7 separate regions of the Homo sapiens genome follow, and all the other regions are linked to region 6. Evidence: promoter capture Hi-C in 16 types of primary human blood cells and fetal thymus (Javierre and others, 2016). All regions are on one chromosome and are shown on one strand. The core of a region is centred on a gene start or on the middle of the fragment in contact, and the rest is flanking DNA. Distances in the headings are between cores, read along the strand shown.

Evidence for each region. The method cuts DNA at HindIII sites, captures the fragments that hold promoters and counts their contacts. A CHiCAGO score of 5 or more calls a contact.
Region 1: a contact is called between a fragment that was not itself captured here and the fragment with the promoter of SERGEF in region 6, in 1 of 17 cell types (non-activated CD4 T cells). The highest score is 5.3, in non-activated CD4 T cells.
Region 2: the fragment with the promoter of PIK3C2A here is called in contact with the fragment with the promoter of SERGEF in region 6 in 12 of 17 cell types (total B cells, M0 macrophages, naive CD4 T cells and 9 more); the score reaches 19.0 in total B cells.
Region 3: a contact is called between the fragment with the promoter of IGSF22 here and the fragment with the promoter of SERGEF in region 6, in 14 of 17 cell types (total B cells, naive B cells, non-activated CD4 T cells and 11 more). The highest score is 21.8, in total B cells.
Region 4: a contact is called between the fragment with the promoter of UEVLD here and the fragment with the promoter of SERGEF in region 6, in 4 of 17 cell types (naive CD8 T cells, M0 macrophages, total B cells and 1 more). The highest score is 8.0, in naive CD8 T cells.
Region 5: a contact is called between the fragment with the promoter of SPTY2D1 here and the fragment with the promoter of SERGEF in region 6, in 4 of 17 cell types (total B cells, naive B cells, non-activated CD4 T cells and 1 more). The highest score is 7.2, in total B cells.
Region 7: a contact is called between a fragment that was not itself captured here and the fragment with the promoter of SERGEF in region 6, in 3 of 17 cell types (non-activated CD4 T cells, total B cells and naive B cells). The highest score is 6.4, in non-activated CD4 T cells.

Annotation. Positions count from the first base shown.
Region 1 is chr11:18,768,836-18,772,249 of GRCh38, forward strand. PTPN5 (protein tyrosine phosphatase non-receptor type 5) reads right to left here. Exons shown (of 15, transcript NM_006906.2): 2 at 3,104-3,236. The coding sequence starts at 3,123. Among named protein-coding and RNA genes, the nearest start is that of PTPN5, 21 kb to the right of the region's middle. RefSeq lists enhancers at 1,374-1,423, 1,675-2,176, 2,177-2,676 and a silencer at 1,793-1,842. The HindIII fragment of the contact is 3,375 bases long and covers 1-3,169 here.
Region 2 is chr11:17,206,410-17,209,488 of GRCh38, forward strand. It overlaps PIK3C2A (phosphatidylinositol-4-phosphate 3-kinase catalytic subunit type 2 alpha), which reads right to left and starts at 1,577. Exons shown (of 33, transcript NM_002645.4): 1 at 1,439-1,577. RefSeq lists enhancers at 844-1,367, 1,368-1,890, 1,396-1,505 and silencers at 1,036-1,295, 1,646-1,725. The HindIII fragment of the contact is 7,601 bases long and covers 1,538-3,079 here.
Region 3 is chr11:18,724,682-18,727,988 of GRCh38, forward strand. IGSF22 (immunoglobulin superfamily member 22) reads right to left here and starts at 1,507. Exons shown (of 23, transcript NM_173588.4): 1 at 1,393-1,507. The region is part of intron 2 of IGSF22-AS1 (IGSF22 antisense RNA 1); the gene reads left to right. PTPN5 (protein tyrosine phosphatase non-receptor type 5) reads right to left here. Exons shown (of 15, transcript NM_006906.2): 15 at 3,247-3,307. The HindIII fragment of the contact is 7,417 bases long and covers 1-3,307 here.
Region 4 is chr11:18,587,257-18,590,270 of GRCh38, forward strand. UEVLD (UEV and lactate/malate dehyrogenase domains) reads right to left here and starts at 1,478. Exons shown (of 12, transcript NM_001040697.4): 1 at 1,357-1,478. The coding sequence starts at 1,398. It overlaps LOC112268073 (a long non-coding RNA gene), which reads right to left. Exons shown (of 4, transcript XR_002957242.2): 4 at 2,837-3,014. RefSeq lists enhancers at 526-635, 1,036-1,185, 1,226-1,285, 1,346-1,640, 1,546-1,595. The HindIII fragment of the contact is 11,919 bases long and covers 1-3,014 here.
Region 5 is chr11:18,632,743-18,635,965 of GRCh38, forward strand. SPTY2D1 (SPT2 chromatin protein domain containing 1) reads right to left here and starts at 1,600. Exons shown (of 6, transcript NM_194285.3): 1 at 1,456-1,600. The coding sequence starts at 1,515. LOC105376578 (a long non-coding RNA gene) reads left to right here and starts at 1,607. Exons shown (of 2, transcript XR_931097.3): 1 at 1,607-2,219; 2 at 3,138-3,223. RefSeq lists a silencer at 585-764 and an enhancer at 1,821-2,090. The HindIII fragment of the contact is 3,460 bases long and covers 296-3,223 here.
Region 6 is chr11:18,010,838-18,014,301 of GRCh38, forward strand. It overlaps SERGEF (secretion regulating guanine nucleotide exchange factor), which reads right to left and starts at 2,210. Exons shown (of 11, transcript NM_012139.4): 1 at 2,114-2,210. The coding sequence starts at 2,173. RefSeq lists enhancers at 485-1,002, 1,003-1,519, 2,878-2,927 and a silencer at 1,878-2,497. The HindIII fragment of the contact is 12,002 bases long and covers 1-3,464 here.
Region 7 is chr11:18,707,489-18,710,848 of GRCh38, forward strand. IGSF22 (immunoglobulin superfamily member 22) reads right to left here. Exons shown (of 23, transcript NM_173588.4): 16 at 3,167-3,340; 17 at 2,839-2,967; 18 at 1,899-2,195; 19 at 719-807; 20 at 316-508. All of the region lies in intron 2 of IGSF22-AS1 (IGSF22 antisense RNA 1), which reads left to right. Among named protein-coding and RNA genes, the nearest start is that of IGSF22-AS1, 2.7 kb to the left of the region's middle. The HindIII fragment of the contact is 2,384 bases long and covers 59-2,442 here.

The sequences.
Region 1 (3,414 bases), core at 232-2,731, 760 kb after region 6:
TGGATGGGGAACCCAGTCTCTGGGCGCTGCCTTCCTCCCTCCCCACCAAGAGCAGAAATAGCTGCTTTTATTGGATTGCTAAGGCTCCTGCTCTCTCCTTCCCCACTTCTATCAGCCAGGCAACAGGAACAGAACACTGGCCTGTGACAACAGCAGCCACTTGCTGGGCTGCCCCCACCACTGCTTCCCTTATAACCAGAGACCACCAGGGATGAAGGGACTTGGAAATCACCCAGCCTGCCCCCACTTCACTGATGGAGGATGTCCCGGAGTGAAAGTAGCTTCCCAAAGCCATCGTCGCATTCAACAGGCGTGTGCTGAGCACCTCCTGTGAGCAAGGCCTGGAGCTGCCCTAGGAATACAGTGATGAATAATCCAGGCCCCTCCTTGCAGGCTCCCAGTCTTCTCAGGGAGACAGACATGCAGACACGACTGTACCCTGATGCCTGCTTTAATTGATGTATGCATGTGACCATCCTGGGGAAGGCTCTGCTCATTTGTGGGAGGGGCAAGGGGAAGAGGAAGTCTTCTCCAAGGGGGAGACAGGAGCTGGTTTTTTTTTAAATTAATTAATTAATTAATTTTTGAGACGGAGTCTCACTCTGTTGCCCAGGCTGGAGTGCAGAGGCATTATCTCAGCTCACTGCAACCTCTACCTCCCCGGTTCAAGTGATTCTCCTGCCTCAGCCTCCCAGTAGCTGGGATTACAGGTGCCTGCCACTATGCCCAGCTAATTTTTGTATTTTTAGTAGATACGAGGTTTCACCGTATTAGTCAGGCTGGTCTCAAACTCCTGACTTCAGGTGATCCTGCTTGCCTCAGCCTCCCAAAGTACTGGGATTACAGGCGTGAGCCACCGCGCCCGGCCAGGGACTGGTTTTTAAAATATGTTTTTAGGTGAATGGGGGGTTGGGAAAAGGATTTCTTGGGTAGAGCAAATAGAAAGAGCAAGGCATGGAGGCCCAAGATGTGTGGAACATCTGGTGCCATCAGAAGTAGGCTGGTCAGTGGGATGGAGCAGCAGATGGGGGCTAGGCCTCAGCAGAGGCACGTGGGCAAGAAGCAGCCTAGAAGACAGGAATCCTGCCTCCTGGGGTGGCGGGGGAAGCCCTCTTCCACTTGATCATGTGGCTTCCCTGTGGCTTCCCTGCACTGAGAGTGATGCTGGCTCTCTCACACCTGGTCTGGCTGGGTAGGTCTGTAACACGAAGTGGGGGAGCAGCAGCTTACGTTTAAGGAATGGACTTTAGACCCAGCTGGTAGCGTCCGATCTGGTCTGAAACTACTCTTTTTACTGTGCTAAAATTCCCATAGCATAAAATTCAACATTTTGACCATTTTAAAGGGTACAATTCAGTGGCATTTAATACATTCATAATGTTGTGCAACCATCATAATGATCTGCTTCCAGAATATTTTTGTCACCCCAAAAGGAAATCCTGTACTCATTAAGGAGTCACTCCCTGTCCTCCTCCCCACAGCCCCTGGCAACGGCTTATTTGCTTTCTGTCTCTATGGGTTTGCCTATTCTGGATATTTCATATAAATGGAATCATAAAATATGTAGCCTTTTGTGCTTTTGTGTTTGGCTTCTTGCACTTAGCAAGTCCGTAGCATACATCAGTACTTCATTCCTTTTCATGGATTCCTTTTCAAGGCTGAATAATATTCTACTGTAGGACAGACGATGTTTTATTTATCTATTCATCAGTTGAACATTTGGCTTGTTTCTACCTTTTGGCTATTTGTGAGTAGTGCTCCTGTGAACCAAACTGCTCTGTTTCCACTCTCCTCCCATCACGCTTGTGGTTTTGGGCAATCCTTTCTGCGCTCTGGGTCTGAGGCCTCACTTATGAAAATATGGTGGTCAGACTCCAAGCCTGTTGTAACTTGAAGGTCATCACCTTCCTCTGCTCGTTCGTATGTGTGAAGGTAATGCGTTGTGCAGCTACGCCACCAGTGCTGGGTGCTGGAGATCCAGCCTAGACCACCCACCCCATTTTCTAGAAGTTCACGGCCAGTGCAGAAGATACAGAACAGCTGCTGCCGTGGGCTGGGTGAAGTGTTCTAACAAAGGCACCGCCCCTCTGCCTGGGGGGTAGAGTGGGGGATGGGGGGTGCTATTAGGAGACATCCTGGAGTCTCCTAACATGAAGTCCCAGCTTTGCCCAGGACTTATGCAGAGAAAGAGCTGGCTGGTTTGCTGAGCCAATCAGGGAGCCTGAGCCTGCTTCCAAGGTCGGTGAGGAGCAAGGGGGAACTGGGATGCTGAAGCCAGGATTCCTGGGTGTGAGGCTGAGCCAAGCCCAGGCAGACATGCCCTCTATCCTGGGCTTTGTGCTCCTGGTACCCCGTAAATACCCCTCACTGTCAACGTGGAGCTCCTACCACCCTCTTAAAGCTCCAACCCCACCTGACATCTCTATTCGCTGAATCAAACCTGTCCATTCCTCCCTTCGAGCCTTGTTTGTGCTGTTCCCTCAGCCTGGAAGATCCTTTTCCCCTTTTGTCAAATCTTACTCATTCTCCAAGGTGCGACTCAGGCGGTGCGTCTTCCACGGAGCACTCCCTGATCTCTCAGGAAGAACTGCGTCCTCCCACTTCTGGGCTCCCCCACACACCTGGTTCATATGTCCCTTTGTCTCTTACTTTGTTCTGCTGCTATAGTTAGCTGTGTATGCACCTGCCTCTCCCACCAACTTCCGACTCTGGAGCATCCTCACCCCCTCAACCACCTCTGCATCCCAGGTGTTTAGCACAGGGCCTGAGCCTGTTGATGTACACCTTAAAGGCCAAATGCAGGGTAGTGGCAGGGTCTCAGGGTTGGTAGCTTTAGGGGCTCTAGGAAGGCAGACTCCAGCTAGGAGCATCCCAATTAAAGAAGATGGCCAAACCATAGCCAGGAAGAGGCCCATAATGCCATCCAGATTTTCATCAGCACGTTCAGCAGGCAGGGGCAGAGGGCATGCTGGTTTCATGGAAAAGGAATGATCAGGCTGAACACCTCATGAGAATGGGTCACGTGTCCCAGAGCATCCAGATGGAGAAGGCTTGGCCTCCTCAGTGGGCGGGTTGCAGGGGGACGGCGTAAACGCTCACTCACCTGGCTCCCTCATAATTCATTCCCAAGGTGTCTGGATGGGGAAGGGTGCCATCTTCCAGGGCAGGAAGCTTTCTCAGCAAAAAGCAAGCTGGTGATATAAATGAAGGAGAGAGGGCAGCTTCAGATCATCCAGCTGGGAAAACGGGGCAAAGAGAGATTAAGTGACTAGTCTCAGGTCACACAGTGTGCCAACAATTTGCTTTCAGGTAGTTAAAATCCTGATTTCCTTCTGGGAGTCACCTTTCTCCTCCCCTGGTGCCCTGCTTGCCTCTTGCTACACAGACAGCCCAGAATCAGAACTCAGTATTTAT
Region 2 (3,079 bases), core at 327-2,826, 810 kb before region 6:
TCTTATATAAAAATAAAATCTGTATACTTCAACTAGGGTCCTTTCGTCTAATTTGCTGCTGTGAATAAGAGCACCATCCTGTCCAGATAAGGTTAGATCAAATTTAAAAAAAAAAAAAGCACCATTCTGCTGGGCATGGTAGACCAGCCTGGGCGACACAGTGAGACCCCATGTCAATTAAAAAAAAAAAAAAGAGCACCAACCCCAACTATGGCAGAGCTGCTAAAGGAGTCTCTTGTGGAGACTTGAACCACAAGCCAAGGAGGCAAAGGTACAAAGTCTCTCCTGGAATTAGTTCCTGGACTTCTGTGCAGCCTTCCCTCTTTCTACTATGTCTTCACCGTTCCCCTACAAACAGCTTTCTTCTTCTTGCATCTCTTATATGCTGTGGCCTTTGATGCTACAATAGATTTAAAAATTTTCCCAACAGAGCTTTTCTGCCTGAAACCCACCAGGAAAGATTTCAGGACATTCTTTAATAACTAATCTTGTTCAAAGAGGCAGGCCTCCTTCGTTTCACTTAATTCAAACCCCCACTGTTCAAAATAAGAATATAATTATAACCTCAATTTCTATCGGGCCAGTATAGGAAAAGAACTACAACAGGCTCTCTCTTCCACGTTATGTCCAGACTTTTTTCCTTAGTTTCTCCTTCCTCATTTCCCTCCTCAATCCCTCCTCCCCCAAAAAATAATTCCACAGCTAGAGAATGTCGTTTTTAAAGCCAGAAATTCAGTGAGGAAAATAAGTATGTGCCTTTTTCTTCAATTATTTATGATTCCTCCGTCACTCAGGAAGAGTTAAGCTAGTATTTTTTAATCTGACCGCTCTCTCAGAAGGATGATGCGCTAAATACACACTGAAAGAATAGTGTTCCCAAAGCAAGTGGATTCGCGGCTAAAGGCAACGCGGTGGGAGTGGGGGGTCCGGGAAGAAGAAAAAGTATCCTTGGCCCCCAGAGCCAGAGATGGGACAGGAGGTGAAAGAAGGGGCCGTCACTGAGAAGTACAACACACACACTCGCCAGAACTAACAATCTGCCAAGAAAATAGGACCGGCCACTGCGGCTCCAGCCCGGTCCCGCGGGACAAGGCGGGGGAGGGGGGCCGGCGGCCGGGGGGCCTGCCCTCCTTCTGTGGGACAAAACTAACTCCCTGGCGCACCTCCGCTCCCGAGAAGAGGGGCCTGGTGGGGACGCGGGCTCCTCGCACCTCCAGCGCAGCACTTGCTCACGGCCTGGGTGGAAGCAAGGCCCGGAGGGAGGGGGGAGTCGGGCTGGGCAACGCCAAGAGCACGGGATGGAGGGTCAGACGCGGGCACCCAAGGCACTGGGGGCCGCGACAAGAGACCCTTCCAGCCCGGGAACCCCGGGGCCCCTCTCCACCCTTGCAGAGCAGGACCCCGAATATCGTCCCCAGCCGCACCGACCGCTCCTCACCTCAAGCTGCCTGAGCCTCCGCCTCTACCACAACCTGAGCCGCCGAAGCCGCCACAGTCCGAGCCATTTTTCCCCTCAGCTGGCTCAGCCGCCGCCGAAAGCTTCGGCCGACTCCACAGCCAGCCAAGCGCAGCACGTCACTTCCGGACAGGGAAGCACCGCCTTCCCCGCCCGGACTTGTTGCGAATTGGCTGGCGCGGACGGCCTACCTGAGCTGGCGGGCGGGGCTTGGACGCTGCCGGGGTGGCGTGAGCAAGGGAGCTGGGGCGCTGGGGCGCACGGGCCCGGGGGACCAGGGTCTGGCTCTCTCCCGAGGAATGCTGAGCAGGCTCTGGACGCCTCTCCGTGCACACCCCAGACCTGGGGAGGGGAGCTCTCCGGACACCCCAGCTGGCCGCCCCTCGGGCCCTGAGTCCGAAGACCCGCTAAACAGGGCCCGGGCACTGAAGTACCCTATTGTTCTCATCCCCTCTCCCGGGACCCCGCACCCTCCTCCATCTAGGCTGAGGTTCCCAGATTTGTGTCTTGGCCCCTGGCGGCGCCGAGATTACTTTGTGATTGGAAGACTGAAAGGAACAGGCAAGACTTAAACTCGTCCACTCCAACCAGTATTTACCGAGGCCTCACGGTGGGTCAGGTGGTATACGGTGGGTAATTAGTAGCCTATCACGTGGTTTCTGTAAAATGCTTGATAGCACGTAAAACGCTTTCAGGTCGGCGTCTCGTTTCATCCTCACAACAGCCAGGTAAGGAAGATAACCCCCTGATAATAACTCACAGCCAGACGGCTCTTTCTACATTACAAAGTATTTTCACATGCAACCTCCATAATAATATATTCTTATTGAGAATTTAATGAGATTATGCTTGTAAAGCGTTTGGTCCTCACGTGTTAGATCTAAAAATTACGTAACCATGGGAAGATATAGGAAAATTATCCCCATTTACAGATGGGGCTTCTGGGGCACAAAGATGTTAAGGGGAGAGGAACGATTCCATAGCGTTTTACAACAAGATTGTCTTTTAAGCAGTAGGAGAAGGGGGTCCACACCATCCAGACGTTCACAATCTGATGTGGCAGACTGATTTAGGCTGCATTTCTCAGCCTAAACTAAAAATTATCAGCCTATATGATATACGCATAATTAGAAGGCTCTAAGAGAAGTTGAACTTTCAGCAAATAACTGGAAAGAAAGAAATTGGCCTGATTTGGCAGGGACGGGGGTTGGCGAAAGGGGGCTAGGGCAATGGGGAATGTGGAGTGGATGAATCCCTCATAGCGCTGTAATAAACATGCCTGCACCTCCGCAGGGATGGTAAAATTGGATGGAGTTTCTATTCTATGGGGAATTCTAGAAACAAATGTGATTATTTCTTACGGCTGTAGCTACTGGCTGTTGTACACCCCCCCCCCTTCCAACTCCTATCTTTCCCCCAACCCCGCCCCTCCTCTATGCACACACACTTCCAGGCAGGCTACACACTCTAGAAGAATGTCCCTTAGAAATCAACTTAGTTCCGCAGCATTGTTCTGCTTTATCTTCTGATCAAAGGAGGAATTTCTAAAATTGGCAGCAGCTCTTTCACAAGATTAAAAAGGGTGGGGAAAGTGATTTATCTCAGGGTAGCTTCCTAGCTTCT
Region 3 (3,307 bases), core at 257-2,756, 710 kb after region 6:
AAGCTGTGTCTCTTATTCCTGGGCCCTGGGGACCCCGGCACTGGTGGAATGCTAAAACAGATGACAAAACATCACTACAATTCTGCTTGTGTTTGCGACATGGTAAAGGCAAAGGTTTAGTTTTTCTTACATTTTTCTTTGAACTGGTAATTCAATCACATAGTTAAAGAATAAAACAATATAAAAATCCATATGGACAGGCTCCCTCCCACTCCTGCGTCTATCTTACAACCTTCCCCATTGCAACAGGTAGCCAGTCTCTAGGCTCCTTCTAGACCTCCATCATGCAAATAGGAAAACTCATGTGTTCTTATCATCTTCCTTTTTTTTTTTTAATTAAAAAAGCACATAAGGTAGCCCATTATACACACTATTCTGACCCTTTCTTTTTTCATTTAATGTGTCTTGGAGATTTTTTCCATACCAGATGATAGCGTTTCCTCATTCCTGTTCAGAGCACCATGTTTTCTCAATGTTTTATTTAACCAGCATTGCGGTTTTTTTTGGGTGATCTCGGCTCATTGCAACCTCCTCCTCTCGAATTCAAGCCATTCTCCTGCCTCAGCCTCCCCAGCAGCTGGGTTTACAGGCACGTGCCACCATGCCCAGCTAATTTTTGTGTTTTCAGTAGAGACAGGGTTTCATCTTGTTGGCCAGGCTGGTCTCAAACTCCTAGCCTCGATTGATCCGCCTGCCTTGGCCTCCCAAAGTGCTGGGATTATAGGTGTGAGCCACTGCATGTGGCCAGCATTGCAGTTTTTTTGTTTTTGTTTTTTTGAGACAGAGTCTTGCTCTGTTGCCCAGGCTGGAGTGCAGTGGCACGATCTTGGCCCACGACAACCTCTGCCTCCCAGGTTCAAGCAATTCTCCTGCCTCAGGCTCCCGAGTAGCTGGGACTACAGGCACCCGCCATCACACCCGGCTAATTTTTTGTATTTTTAGTACAGATGGCGTTTCACTATGTTGGCCAGGCTAGTCTCGAATACCTGACCTCGTGATCCGCCCACCTCAGCCTCCCAAAGTGCTAGGATTACAGGCGTGAGCCACCGCGCCTGGCCCAGCATTGCAGTTTTTAAAGTCCTATTTCGTATATGAGGAAACTGATGTCTGAAAGAAATGACCTGTCCAAGGTCACTCAGACTAGACTCCTAGCTTTTGACTCCAGTCCAGTGGCGTCCCAGAGGGCTCCAAAGCCTTCTTTAACCCAGGTAGTTAGGGGTTAAACTCTATTCCCTCTCTCCACCCCCTAATATATCTCTGCCTGGGCTGCTTCTACCTTTGGGTTCTGAGACTACTCCCCTGTTCCTATTCCTGCCCTCTACCCTATAGTCCCCTCTGGGCTCAGAAGGTGGTCAGCTTTGTCCCCTTCCTGAGGGAGGAGGGGAGCCTTACCTTCAGCACTGACCAGTCCCTCCCAACACTCGAATGCTGTGTCCACGGCTTTGGAGGCTCAGCTAGTGCCTGGACTGTAGGGTGGCCCGTCTCCTTCTTCCTTTGCCCCAACAGTGAGGCTACCAGTGTCATCTGTTCCTTAAATGTCTGGCCCCCTGGGGGCGATTCCTTAGTCAGGCTCTGCAGCTGTCTCAGCTAGATGGCACACTGCTTGGTTGTGGGGGGAGGGGGAGGGCGGTGGAGAAGGGAGGCGGGAAGCAAAGCTGGATCCAGGCTGGGGGAAACACTGAAGGCCAGGCGGGAAGGAGGCTGAGGGTGGCAGTCCAGGGGTACTTTTTTTGTTCCCTTGTGGTACAGGTTTTGGCTCTCACTGCTGCTGGGTAGGACCTCTCTGAGCTGAGGGGCTCAGGGTAGTGTGTGTGCACAGGCACACACTCAGGTACAGGTGCATGCATAGTCCAGCAGGGCTCAGGGAGCAAAGCAACAGGTCTGTATTTTCCAGGGACTGGGACACGGTGAACTGGGGAGGGCCTCTGGGATCTGCTGCGTTGCTACACAAATCCAGGGGTTCCCATTCATGTTGCACTCCTATGTGTGGTTCATACACAGCCTGAGTATCTTTACAAGGCCACCCTGGGGAAGAACAGGGAAATGTTAGGTCTCCTTCCTCTTCCCACTTCAACAGCCCAATCTCCCTAATCTGGGTAGAAGAGTAGGAGGGCCCATCCTCCGGGGGTTGTGGGGAGGTCTCTGCTTGAGGGTGACTGGAGAGTATGGCCACCTCTTCTCAAGGACTTCCATCTGGGCTGCTTCAGCCACCTGTTGTTTTCTTTTCTTTTCTTTTTTTTGAGATGGAGTCTCTGTCACCCAGACTGGATGCAGTGGCACGATCTTGGCTCACTGCAACCTCTGCCTCCCAGGTTCAAGCGATTCTCCTGCCTCAGCCTCCTGAGTATCTGGGATTACAGGCGTGCACCGCTACGCCCGGCTAATTTTTGTATTTTTAGTAGAGATGGGGTTTCACCATGTTGGTCAGGCTGGTCTCGAACTCCTGACCTCATGATCTGCCACCCCTCGGCCTCCCAATGTGCTGGGATTACAGGCGTGAGCCACCGTGTCCAGCCCACCCTGTTGTTTTCTCATCATCTGTAGCACACCCCGCATGCCTGGACCCTGGATCCCACCCAAGGTTCTGGCACCTTGTAAGGACTTGTTGGTCAGCACCCTTGCCCTGGACCCCTCCTTCTGCCCTGGGGTGACCCCCACCTGCCAGCAGTGGCATCATGGCTACTTTTGCTCCATCCCAGGGGGGCAGGGGACAAGAATAGAGCAGGAGTGTCCAGGATGGCTCAGGATCTCAGCCCACATGCAGATTCCCTGGGCCCCTTGGGAGGAGCTACTCTGAGCCCAGGCCTTACAAGGGAAATTACTGGGCTGCAGCTGCTGTTGGGATCTGTGGAGCTAACATGGGATAAGAGTTTGGCCAACAGGGAGGGGCCTGGGTGTGACCTGAATGTCTCCTTACCCTAGCCTTGGCTTCTCTGGCACATCTGTTGGAAATGGTGACCTGCCAGCCACTGTGCCTTCCCTGGAAGCCTTCCACACCTGTCCTTGAGGCTCCCCATGGCCCAGAGCATGTGTCAGGGCCAGGGCTGAGGCTGTGTGAGAATCCTGCAGAATGTTCCCAGTTTGGCTTTACAAATTTGGACTCGCTCCATACTCCCAGTCTCCACAAGGGGCTCCAGTGAGCAGAAGGGCCAAGCTCACTGTGCTCATGCTGGGGAGGGGCACAAAGACCCAAGTACAGGAAGGAAGGCAGTGGAGGGGAGAGGCAAATCACACAGACCCAGGAGGTTAGTTTTGCTCAAAATGCTCCGTTTATTGCTCTATTCAATGACCACGAGCGAATTATAAA
Region 4 (3,014 bases), core at 228-2,727, 580 kb after region 6:
TTGAATGGTTCTTTTAATTTCACATGCTCTGAAGAGGAGACAGAAAGGGTAGCATTATGATACTTCTCTTCCTACAAGATCTGCACCTGTCGCAGTAGATAAATTCATTCAAGTCACTTACATAAACAATTTCAATCTTAGGACTTCAAAACCTCCCACGGGTATGTAAACTGCCCCAACAAAGAAAGAGGCAAGTATAACAAAAATGGCATAAACTATGGTTTCTGCATTAGGAAGTCTTAAGAAGCATTAAGAATTATTTAAGGCCGGGTGCGGTGGTTCATACCTGTAATTCCACCACTTTGGGAGGCTCAGGCGAGTGGATCACTTGAGGTCAAGAGTTCGAGACCAGACTGGCCAACATGGTGAAAACCCATCTCTACTAAAATACAAAAATTAGCCAGGCATGGTGGCACGCGCCTGTAGTCCCAGCTACTTGGGAGGCTGAGGCACGAGAATCGGCTTGAACCCGGGAGGTGGAGGTTGCAGTGAGCCTAGATCGCACCACTGCACTCCAGCCTGGGGGACAGAGCAAGACTCTGTCAAAAAAAAAAACACAAAAAACAAAAAACCACCTTAACTAGGAAACTGGTGAAAACTAGTCTTCTTAACTAGAAAATTGGCGGGGATTCCCTCAGATTGTACACCGGAAACTCAGGCTAGTCAGGTCTCAGAAATATAGGTCAGATTTCTAGGTCGGCCCGCCTACTCCCCAGCCTTCCAACATTAAGATCTCTCCAGGGCCTTCAAGCTCTGTCTTCATCTCTAAATCTACTCAGGTCTTTCATTCACTGCACAGTTACTTAGTACCTATGGTGTTGTCAAACATAGTGGCTAGAGGAAGGGAATACAAAAGCACAATGTCTGCAGTCAAAGGGGCTCACAGCAAGATTACGGTTTGTAAATACATAATTACTCCACAATGTGATAATCGATATCTTTCAAAACAGAAGGGTTGATTCAATCTTACAGGGAGTGACTGAGTTGGGTCTTACAAAGGATGAGCTTTGCAATTCAAGAAAAAAGAAAAAAAAGGCAGACCATTTCAGCAGAGAGAAAGAGAGAAAGGCGTGGTTAGGCGTGTGCTGGGAGCTGTTTGAGGTCAGTGAAGCTGGGGGTATGAGGAGGGCTCGCACCAGGTGGAGGTTGGGAAACCTCAGAGTTGCGGGAGAAATCAGAATCCAGGTCCCCTCAGCCTCCCTGGGGCCGCGCCCCATAGCCGGTTTCAGACCAGCCGCCCCGGCTCCAAGCCCCACTACAAGCCGGGAAACGCAAAACGGAGGCAACCTGGCCAAAGGCAGAGGCACCCCCCGCAAGACCCTGAGGACCCAAACTGGCCCAGCGGACTGCCCGCACCTTGCCAAGCAGCCGTCTCAGGCCCTCGCAGTCGAACTCCATCTCCAGGCCGGTCCCGAGCTAGGTCCCAGGACTCCAGCCCCCGGACCTTCTTCCGGACTTGCTGCAGGACGGAAGCCGCTGAGGACCAAACTTCCCGGCGGTCCAAGGCCCCGCCCCTTCCCAGACTGGAAATTCCACCCGCATTCAACGCCCCGGGCTCAGCCGCGGCTGCGCCCGGAATCCGGGGCCTCTCCTTCGTGACCCCGGAGTGGGCAAGTGACGAGGGCACGGCCAGAAACGCATTGGCGTCAAGGAAACCACGACCCATCTTCCTGGAAGGAAACTTGGGGACACTTATGAAGAGAAGACTAGGAAGGACCGGAGTAGAAGCACTAAAGGAGGTAGAGGCAACACGCGGTGTTCTTGAAGAGTTTCCAGACAGATGTATTAAATTCCACAGTGTATCAGGAAAGAGCAAGACCGAAAATTGCAGTTGAATTTAGGAAGGAGGCGGTAATGGAACTTCAGAAGCAAAATTTCAGGGAGTAGAAAGGAAAAACAAAGTCAGGAGGAGCCTTGCCGGAGAAGCGGAGATAGGACAGCCCCAGCATGAGGGTGGCTTAGCACGGGGAGAGTGGTTGCTTTTTTTATTTTTTTTAGGGGTGCCATAACAATGTTGGTGGTCAAAGAGAGGAGAAATCCAGGTGAACAAATAGTTGGAAAACAAGAGAGGAGGGAGATGGGTGGATAAGGTCATCTGGAGAAGGTGGGTGAAGAAGAGATGCAGGATACAGTAATTTTCTGGCGTTGTTTGATCTCCTTGGCCCATGGCTGACTTACCTGCCCTGTATCCCTGGCCTGAGCCACTGAAGCGAAAAGTCCCAGGAGCTGGATATTGTAATTGTCAAGAGGTTGGACATATAGGAGAGAGATTGTATTTATAGGAAGATCTGAAGGGAGTGCTGCCCTGACTCAGGAGAAGAAGCTGAAAAGCTGGAAGGAACATTCATTCAGAAAGTTTTTGTTGAGCATCTACTACTTGCCAGCTATTTTTCCAGGTCTCAGGATACAGCCGTGAACAAAATACACTCAGATAGCTGATGTCTTAAGGGTGTCATTCCTTTATTAGCAGAGAGAGAGCAAAACAATAAATGTAATAAGTAAATTATTCAGCATGTCAGAAGGTTGATTACGTGTTGTGGAGAATAAATTCTGAAAAGGGTAGGGAGATTGGGGTAGGTCTCACTGAGGGGTGAGGGAGTAAGTGTTACGAATCCGAGTGCAGACAAAGCAGTAGCCTAAGGCATGTGCCCAGGGAGGCTCAACACAGCAAGGAGGCCAGTGTGGCTGGAGTAGAATGAAGTAAGATGGGAGTGGAGACAAGGAGGCTAAGTCAGGGAAATAAGACGGGGGAACAAGTGGTTTAGAGAAGTGAGTCTTCTAGTGTGAGCCCCAGATCTGCAGCCTCAGGTGCTGGGAGTTGTTAGAAATGCAGATGCTAAGACCTCAACCCCAGCTTTATTCAATCACAGGCTCTGGGGTTGGGGACCAGCAATTCTCTTTTAACAATTCTTCCAGATGATTCTGATGGGTGATGAAGTCCAAGAACCACTGTGGGACTTTGTAGACAATTGTAAGGACTCTGGCCTGTCCCTGCCCTCCAGCCAGAGACCATC
Region 5 (3,223 bases), core at 350-2,849, 620 kb after region 6:
ATTTTCTGCTTTAGGATTATCTGTCTGCTTTTCTCCCAGCAGCTACTGGCTTTCAGAATAAGAAATGACTTAGTTCTGATTCTTCCACAGAACAGTACTGGGCATCAAAGCTAGTACTATCTTTGACCTTTACTGAAATTCAATAAGATCTAGAATGAAATACAGACCAAATTATGCAAAGATGAATGGTTACTAGACCCAATATTGATTCATCTGGAAAATTTACAGATGCTTCTAGAAAGTAAATCTGTTGATCTGGGTTTCAAAGGTTTGAGTCTATACCTTCAACATGCAAAGCTTATGACTCACGGCTTAGAGGAATGGTTATTCAGAGTTCTTGGGATAAGGGATGGCTGTGTGTGTGTATATATACATATATTTATAAACATAAATATAGACCTTTTTCAGATCAATATTTTCAAAGGGATAAAAGAATGAACTAGCCTCAGAAGACAAAAAAAAGCTGCAGAAGAGAAAAAAACGAATATTGCAATATACGAATATCTAGGAAATGCAGAGCACTTCGTCGGAGCTCAATAAATTCTAGCTGAATTGACTTTGAGAGCCGTTTTAGTTCTATACCTCACTGCTCAAACCGCAGGCATCACCATGCAACTTATCGGTTTACAGCTGTGCTGTGGGTACCATCTGAAAATCTGGAAATGATTAGCTTATGCAAAACAGCCATAACCCCCAGAAACCAGGCGCTCTCCACCACTTTACCATTTAAGTCTTACACCGCTCTTGCGACTGTAAGCGAACTGACAAACATCTACTGACCAAATGGGACCTAGATTTTAAACAAAGACTGAAATCTGGAAGGCTACAAGTAAACAGAAGCTGAAACTAGCTCACCTATTCTGTTGGCCAAGGATTTCGTGGAATCTGCTAAACTTCTCTTCCCAAAAGATGATACCTATCCCCTGGGAGGTGATAATTTAATCACCTCGGTGGCTGAGTGGGTGGGGCCGAGTCAGAGAATTCTTTCAAGAAATCGCTAAACGTTTGACTTGAAGATCGATGAGAAGCCAGCCAAAAAGCTATCAAGCCAAGGACCCCAAACCCCCTAACTCCCTTACATACATATTTCCTTCCCAATCTCTAGGCTGAAGTTTATGTGGAAGCCAAAAACTACCAGCGCTAGAATCCACAGCGTGCCAGGCACAGCTCACTCACGGCTTTCACGCAATTCTAGCTACAACACCCAAACCGCAAAGTCCCTGTTGCAGGGGTAAATAAGCCGGCGAAACCCATTCACAGGAAGGCTCCCGCGTCTCGTCCCAAGCTCTTTTCTCCCGAGTTCCCAAGAGTATAAACCCAAGAAAAGGAAATAAGGCGTCCGGGTCTTTCCTCTCCCGGAGCCGATAGGCGGCTGCCCAGAAGTTCCATGGGCCACACACATTCCGAACTTGGAAGACTAGGGTCCCCTACATTGATGCCCCAGCTGCTACTTACCGGCACATTGTTGACACCTTGTCCCTTGGAAGCTATCATGAGAATTTCTCTGAAGTCCATGTTGGGCCGAGGCGGGAGAGACTGGGCCAGGCACTCGGAAAGGACTGACAGCGCACCTAACCGAGGCGCCCAGCTACAGCCAACTGCACTGCCTCGGGAGCCCCACTCCCACCCCGCCTCTGCGGGACCACTTCCGGCGCCTTCCTATGCCGTCTGCCCGCCCCCTTCCCTCCACGGCCTATATCCTTTCAGGGCCGCCACAGCGCTCGCGAGTCCCTGCGTAACTTCCGCTTTTAGGCCGAGACACGTACAAACGTGATACGTGGCTGCTGGCGTCGACCCGAGGGGCAGGGACTAGGCATTTTAGCAACCAAGGGGGTGTGGCTAAGCGAGAGAGCGGCTTCCCTGGTGGCCCGGGCGCGCGGTCTTGTCATCTTGTTGCTCCTTGTGAGCGCTGGGTAGAGAAAGTGAGGGGGTAGAGGGTTTACTTGCCAGGCCTGGGTTCTCTGGGTGTCACGGGTAGGCGCTTAGATCCAAAACGGCGGCGCCACAACAGCTGAACAGACGGATCTCGAGCCGGGGTTTGGGCTACTTGTGTCTAGGCGCTCGCGAAGCTGCGCAGGCGCACACAGCAGCGCCGTGGTCCTGTCTTGGATGCCCATTACTCATCAAATTCGGCCACATGCCGTGCGCTTACCTCCTACTCAGATGCACGCGTGCCGGGGATGGGGGCACGCGCTTACTTCTTTTGCCCCGTTTAGAAAGTAAGTTTTATGTGGAGCAGCCAACCTGTGTTTTTGCTCAGGCAATGGATTAAGGAATTTCACATACAGACCCAGCCTTGACATAACTTTGGTGTACTGATGAACATATGCTTCATATTCATATTCATTGGGATCCTAGTCCTGACTTCTTTTGGAGAGTTATCTTGGATCTGTAAGGTCATTTCGACTTAGCAAAAACACTGAAAATAATTAGGCAAACCTGGGTCTGCAAGTGGGAACCCGCCAGGGGATTGATAGCAAACAGGTACTCGGGATCTTTTCGGTGGGATGGAAATGCCTCCAAACTGGATTGTGGGGATGGTTGCACTATACATGTACTAAAAATCGTACACTTAAGACGGGTGAGAATGATACAGTATGTAAATATGTCAAGCTGTTAAAACATGCTAGACAGGCCGAGCGCGGTGGCTCACGCCTGTAATCCCAGCACTTTGGGAGGCCGAGGCGGGCGGATCACGAGGTCAGGAGATCGAGACCATCCCGGCTAAAACGGTGAAACCCCGTCTCTACTAAAAATACAAAAAATTAGCCGGGCGTAGTGGCGGGCGCCTGTAGTCCCAGCTACTTGGGAGGCTGAGGCAGGAGAATGGCGTGAACCCGGGAGGCGGAGCTTGCAGTGAGCCGAGATCCCGCCACTGCACTCCAGCCTGGGCGACAGAGCGAGACTCCGTCTCAAAAAAAAAAAACAAAAAACATGCTAGACAAAGCTGCTGGCTCTTACTCTTTGATGGTTTAATGCTGCGAACGTAATTCAAAATCAAAGCTGTTGGAACTTTAAGTTATTTTGCGCCTTAAAAGAATGTTATTATGGAACCTGAGCTACATAACAGGCAGCTGCGTTTGTTCCTCTGATTATAGATTAGCCTTTCTTTCCTACATCGTTTTGTGAAAACACAGGGAGAAGACAGCCATGTACAAACCAAGGAGAGAGACCTCAAGGTAACCACACCTTGATCATGGAATTCTAGCCACCAGAATTGTTA
Region 6 (3,464 bases), core at 960-3,459:
TTGCTCAGCATGAAGGGGAATATAGAGCATATATGCACAGGATTTCTTGGTCAGCCCTGAGATCTCCGTGGCTGTCCCATTACCAGGGGTGCAAGGCTGCTGAACACCTGGGAGAAAAGTAACATGACACATGGGCACTCTGAGGTTCAAATTACGGTACCAATTTTTGTAACACTGTGAGAGGCCCTAAATCCAGGATAAAGCAAGACGAAGGGAAATTTAACACAACCTATTACAACTGTTGTTTGCCTTTCTTCCTCACAAACACTCCAGACATATCACACGTGCACATGCACACATACACACACACACACACACACACACACACACCCCTAACAAGGTAAATCCCCTTCCTGTGAACCGAACTTTATTCCCCCAAAATTCACGTGTTGAAGCCCTAACCTTTAGTACCTTACTGTATTTGGAAAGAAGGCCTTTAAAGGGGCAATTAAGGTTAAATGAGGTCATAAGGGTGGGGCCCTAATCCAATATGACTGGTGTCCTTAAAAGAAGAGACACCACGGATGCTCACGCACACAGAAAAGGCCATGTGAGGACACAGTGAAAAAAGCCATGTGAGGACACAGTGAGAAGGCGGCCATCTGCAAGCCAGAGAGAGGCCTCGGGAGAAACCAAACCTACTCACACCTTGATCTTGGCCTTCTAGCCTCTGGAACTGTGAGAAAATAAATTTCTGTTGTTTAAGCCTCTGTTGTGTGGTATTTTGTTATGGTAGCCCTAGCCGACCAACACACCCCCACAGTTTCAGATTATACAGCAGGAAAAACACACTACCAGTCCTCCAAACACAGCAGAAGGGTGTCAACAACCTATTAAACATATTTTACAACCTTTAATATTCGGCTTTGTCTGTACTGAAACAATATTTCTGTTTCCTCTGTCCACACAGACGCCAGTCTCCTGCCTGGAAAAAGCCAGAGACAGCACACATTCAATCCCCAACTCCACCCCCAGCTCCCGGGCCACCTCAAAGACGCCCAGCCAGCCAGACTACCGCAGGTCACGCCATGCTCTCCCTCCTGCCAAATTGCAGCCCCACATTCAACAATTGCCGCCTTGTACTGATCATTACTTCTTTAAAAATTGGACAACTAATACTGATTTTAACAGCAATACAGGTTATAATTTTGCTCTCCCCCAACACAAGAGCTGGAAGTCCTTCACTCGTGTATTTCACTCATGTGTATTTCCCCAACACCAGCACATGGGTAGGCACACAGATGCTCGTTCATTCATTCGTCAACGAGTATTTACTGGGGACCTACAATGTGCCAGACACCAAGAGAGGCACCGTGAACAAGACAGGCACAGCACCCACTCTTACCACACTTACTTTCCAGCCAGAGAGACTGACGTTAATAATAAATTATACACATCATTACAATTGTGATACGTGCTATGAAGAAGCACAAGACGCAGCGACTGCTTGTTCCCGTGCATGCTGGTCGGCCACCTGCCACGCTCCTGTGCATGAACCCTCCTCTCTCCCAGACACACATCAAGATGACCCTGTCTCTCCCAATGCTCCCGTCAAACCAACAGCAGCCCAACTCCCCCAACACATGCAAGAACCGGTCACAGCAGAGTGTCAGCAAATAGGCAGGGTCTGTGCCTTGTGCGCGGCCAAACACCGCAGGCCTCACATCTAAAGGATGCTTTCGCCAGGCTGGGACAGGGTCTCCCTCCTCCAGGCATCAGGAGTGTGGGGGGCACAGGTGGCCCCACGGAGCTCTGGGACCGGGCGATCCTCTCCACCGAGCCCTCCGCGCTGTCTTCCAGGCGCTATTCGGGCTGGAGGGCTCTCGCGGAACCAGACGCTCTGCCCCGAGGCAGGTTCTTCCCGCGGCGCCACAGCCCCTCCGGCCCTGACCCCGCCAGCCGGCAGGCCCCTAAGTCGACCGCGAAGACCCTTCCTTCCCCGCCCGCCCGCTCCTCCTCCGCTCCCCCTCCGCTCCCAGCCCAGGATCCTTCAACCCAGAGCCCGGCTCGGACCTCAGCCGCCCAGCCCCTGAACTGCCCACGCCGCGGCCAGCAGCTCCCACATCTCGGCGCCCCTCAGGGCCTGCACCGGCCCGGGGGCGGAGTCACGTACCCAGGCGAAGAGCGCGGCCGCCGCGGGGGCGGCCTCCGAGGCGCTGGGCTCGCGCTCCATGCGAGGACGCTCCGCCGGCGCTTCCGGGAGGGACGGCACGGGGGCGGCGCCTGCCGGGGGTAGGTGAGCGCCGGAGCCGGACCGGGGACGCGTGATGGGTAGGGCGCGGGGCGGGGTCTGTGGTGGGAAGCGGCCCGCAGGCCGGGAGAGAGGGTGCGGCCGGGCCCTCGGGCCACTGGGGATCAGTGGTGGGCGGGGCCGGACGACAGCCCCGGAGCCGCCTCCCAGTCAGCCCGCCCCGGCGGCGCTCGCAGCGTCTCCGCCCGCAGCCTCCTGTCTCGCTGGGCCTCTCAGCCTCTCGCTCCTACCCCCTCGTACTCTTTATTTTTAGTCATAATTTCATGTTTCATGCAGGTGCACTGCGCGCCACAGTTCACAAAGCTCCTTCGCGTTTTTGTCTCCTTGGAGGCCCACGACAGCCCAGAGGGGCTGACAGGGCAGCGATGGCATCACCATTTGCGGGAACAGGAAATGGAGCCTGAGGGGTAGGGCAGGGTCCTGCCCGGCGTCTCAGGCGCAATTGTCTTGAGCCCGCTTTGGTGTGCGTTCGCAAACATCTGAGGGGGCGCCTTGGGAGGCGAGTGGAGTGGCACGTCGCCGGTGTCGCCCTCTGCACCTGGCACGGAGCGGGAACCCGCGCCTCGCGACGCTGAATGGGGGAGGCTGGTTAGCGTCGACTCCTGCCGGGGCAGCCTCGGCGCTCCGGGCACGGCCCTGAGCTCATTCTATTAATAATACTGGATAATCGTCACCCAACGAACATTTCCATATAAAATGGCTTTTCTCAGACAGCGTCGTGTTGCTGATGGGAGTTAATTAAGTTCAATTTATCTGAAGGAAAATATGGCACCGCGTACCGGGAATACAGAACACATAGGGTCACATTAAAGATGATCATCCACATTCACATTCGGTAGCACTTGGCCCCTCTGCTGACACGGGCCTCCAGCACTCACTGCCCTTCACCCCTGGGCTTCTGGGAAGTGTCTCCAATGAGCTCTTACACTGTCCTTTCCTGTTCTTTCACTCCATCCACTTTTAGGAGTTTCTGCCTGTAAGACCACTTGAGGGCAGCCCCTCACCTTTATCTCTCCAACCTGTGGCATCTGGAGAACGTCGATGACCATACCAAGAAAAAAGCAAACTTTGGAGAGATAAAACAGCTCTTCATTCTCTAGGGATCTGAATGTGCAGGAGCTATACCATGCTTACTGACTGTCTTATGAGTGGGCTTTTTTGTGCTGACCATTTCTTTGAAGCATGTGTAACAGGATGTAAAAATGGGATCCTT
Region 7 (3,360 bases), core at 1-2,500, 700 kb after region 6:
TTACTGTTCAGTAAAAATGAATCCATTCCTTCCTTGGGGGTTTAGAGCTTTATTTTAAAGCTTCCAGCTCTCTTTAAGCAGTCACCCCAATTTTTAATGGATTCATCTCCATTTGTCCCTCCTGCCCCTCCACCCATTTCTACTCTCTCTGCCGACCATACTCTGTATGATAAAGTCTTGCTCTGTGGTGTCAAAGAAATCTTCATGGCCCTAAGGCATGACTTTCCTGTGGTAGGAACTCAAGCGGCACTGGGGAGCTGTGCTTTGGAGAGTGTACAGGGATGGGTCTTGGAGGCCTCTGCCTTCTCTCCATACCTGCCACGCGCACATGGATGTCATAGCGTGCTTCTCCAAACTCATTCTGAAGCAAGATTCGGTACACCCCTGAGTCAGAGCGCTTGGTGCTATTAATGAGGAACTGGGAGTGGTTTTTGCTCTTGGTAATTGTCTCTCGGCCCTTGGTGGGAACGCCATCTTTCTGCCAGATCACGTCAGGTGGTGGTGAGCCCTGAGTAGTGACAGGAGATGGCACAACTGGTCACACAGATGATATTTGGGGGCAGGCCTTCCTCCATTGTCGAGGAGTTTCCTGCCAGGCTGTCGCACTAGGGGTCTGGTGAGGGGCAGAGTCAGAGTCAGAGTCAGAGACTGTGATGGCTACAATAGCCATCTTGGTTATGTGGACAGTGTATGGAGGTCAGGGTCAGGGACAACTCACAGAGAAGGCTGCATGGATGCAGAGGGCTGTCCCAGCGCGAACCACCATGTGACTCTTCAGCCGGGCACTGAGGTCAAACTTGGGTGCAGCTGAGATGGAGGAGACAGAGGTGGAGGCATGGATCTGTCTTTCAAGAAGACTCTGCTTTAAGCCTCCTCATCAAAGCCTTCCCAACCTCTCCTCCTTTATGCCCCCACTACAGGCCATACAGACATCTAGCTGCCCTGCAACCCTGTGAAGCATTTATTTGTTTTCTCATCTGTCTCCTTCTACTAGTACGCAAGACCCTGGAAGGCAAGTCCTTGTGTCTTGTTTCTATAACCCTAACACCTCCTTTTGAAATTGCCATTGCAACAATTATAACAGCGAGAAAATTATGACAGTGAACGAGATCTGATCTAACCAACCCCCATCTTGCCTTTACCCTCCAAACTGCCCTTAATCATTCCTGGTTTCAGACCAAGCTAATGTTGGGAGAGACATTTAGTTTATAGCTTAGATGATAACAGTCTTCCCCCAAACTAAATCACCTTTGCGAAGCTAATGAAAGGCCACCAGGTTAGGAGGATGTGAGGAGCCTGAATTCTGCTAAGGTGTAGACATAAAAGATTACCAGCCATTATTCCAGAGATCACAAGATTTGCAACTCCCCAGCTGCTCCTGCAAATAACATCACTATTGTAGAGCCTAAGATTGGTGGTTGAGATGTCTTTTCAGGTTTTTGCATTTCTGACGACTGATGGCTCCACCTGGACCTGCTCTCCCTCCACCCCACAAGTCCTGAGGCCCCAGTCAGAAGCAGGCTCCCTGGACTTTGAATTTTCGGGGAATTGATTTGGGTAATAACTCTGTCTCCCATACAGCATGGCTGGCCTTGTGTCCATTAAACTCTTTGTTGCAATGCTGTGGTCTCAGTGAACTGGTTTTGCGTGTACAATGCGCAAGAAGAACCCATTGGGTGGTTACACCTTGACACACAGTAGATGCTATTTGGCACACAATGATTGATTTAGTAGGGGTGCCCCTGAAGTTACCCCTAACTTTGTCCAGGCACAACAACTATGGATGACTTTTTCATGATCCTAGCATCATCCAATTTTCCTGTGGGATGAGGCCCCAGAGGAGAAGGTTTGGAGGTACAATGTTGGGCATGAATCCCCAGCCCTCTCTGTGTCCTCACCTGGTGGTGGCATGGCACGGACCCCCTTGTCTAGCTCCACAGGCTCCCCAACCCCAGCCTCATTCACAGCCCGGATTCGGAAGAAGTATTTCTGCCTCTCGATGAGTCCTCCCACTGTGTAGCAGGTGCCTGAGATGGGGATCTTTGTGCACTTGGACCACTCCTTTGTGTCTTCAGCCCTCATCTCAAGGATGTAGCCAGAGGGTGGGTCTCCCTCTGCAGGCTCCCGCCAGGCCAGGGAAATGCTGGAGTTGGAGGAATCAGATACATGCAGGTCCTGGACCAGGCCTGGGGGTTCTGGGGTAGAACAGACATGTAGTCAGCCCCTCCAACTCATCTCCACTCAATGCCTTGCTCACTTCCCACACTCAATACTCCTGAACCCCATCCTTCACTACTTCTAGCTCCAGATCCCTCAGTTAACACCCTTAGTACCTAGCCTTATACACTCAACCTCCAAATTCAAATTCAGTTATCTTACTGTTTTAACACTTTCATCCTTAAACTCAATACCCCTTAAATTCAACATACCCCACATATTCAAAGCTTCTGTATTCAAAACCCCAGCCTTTAACCCAACCATCTCCACCACATCCACTTCCAGGCAGTACCTTCACCTTGCTTCCTAAATGCAACACCCTCCAACCATCTACCTCACACCCTTACTCAACCCTCAGCATGCCTCTCCTACCTCACCTAACTAGAAATACACGAAATTTAAAAAACGTTTTTGCACCCCACCTCCTCACTGTCCCTGACTCTCAATCTTTATTTGCTGGCTTTCTCTTGTGTGTGAATCTTGTCCCTCTATGAGGCTGGCAGTTTCCAGAGTGTAGAGACTGTGATACCTCGTGTCATACTTTCCCGGGGAAGAAATTCTTTCTCTACTTTGAATGGGCTAATTCCATTATGTGTCAGGACCTGGCAGCCGCATACTCACTAACAGGATCCTTGGCCACTACTGAGCTGGATGGCACACTGGGCTGTCCAGGGCCTGCCTTATTTACAGCTATAACTCGGAATTCATATTCTGTGTCCTCCAGGAGACCATCCACAGTGCACTTGGTGCCTGAAATGGGAAGATGAGGGGTCGTGAGGCCAGAGGCATCCATGGGGTGAGAACAAGAGTGAGAGACATAGAAGAGGAGGTCATGGGATGTTGTTAAAACTTCCAGAAGAGTTGGATGAGGGACTGTGTCAGTAGTTAATGGGTCCACTCAGCAAGACCTCCTTTGGTCACTCCTGGGCCTCTGTTCCAAGGACCTCACCCTGGATGGGGTCCTTGTTGACTGGCACCCACAGGTTGCTGCCTTTCTTCCTTCGTTCTACAATGTAGCCGAGCACTGGGGCTCCCCCATCCTGGGTAGGGGCATTCCACGTGATGGTCACGGCTTCTTTAGTCACATCAGTCACTTGAGGCTGGGAGGCAAAACCAGGAGGCTCTGTGGGGGAAAGAGAGAGT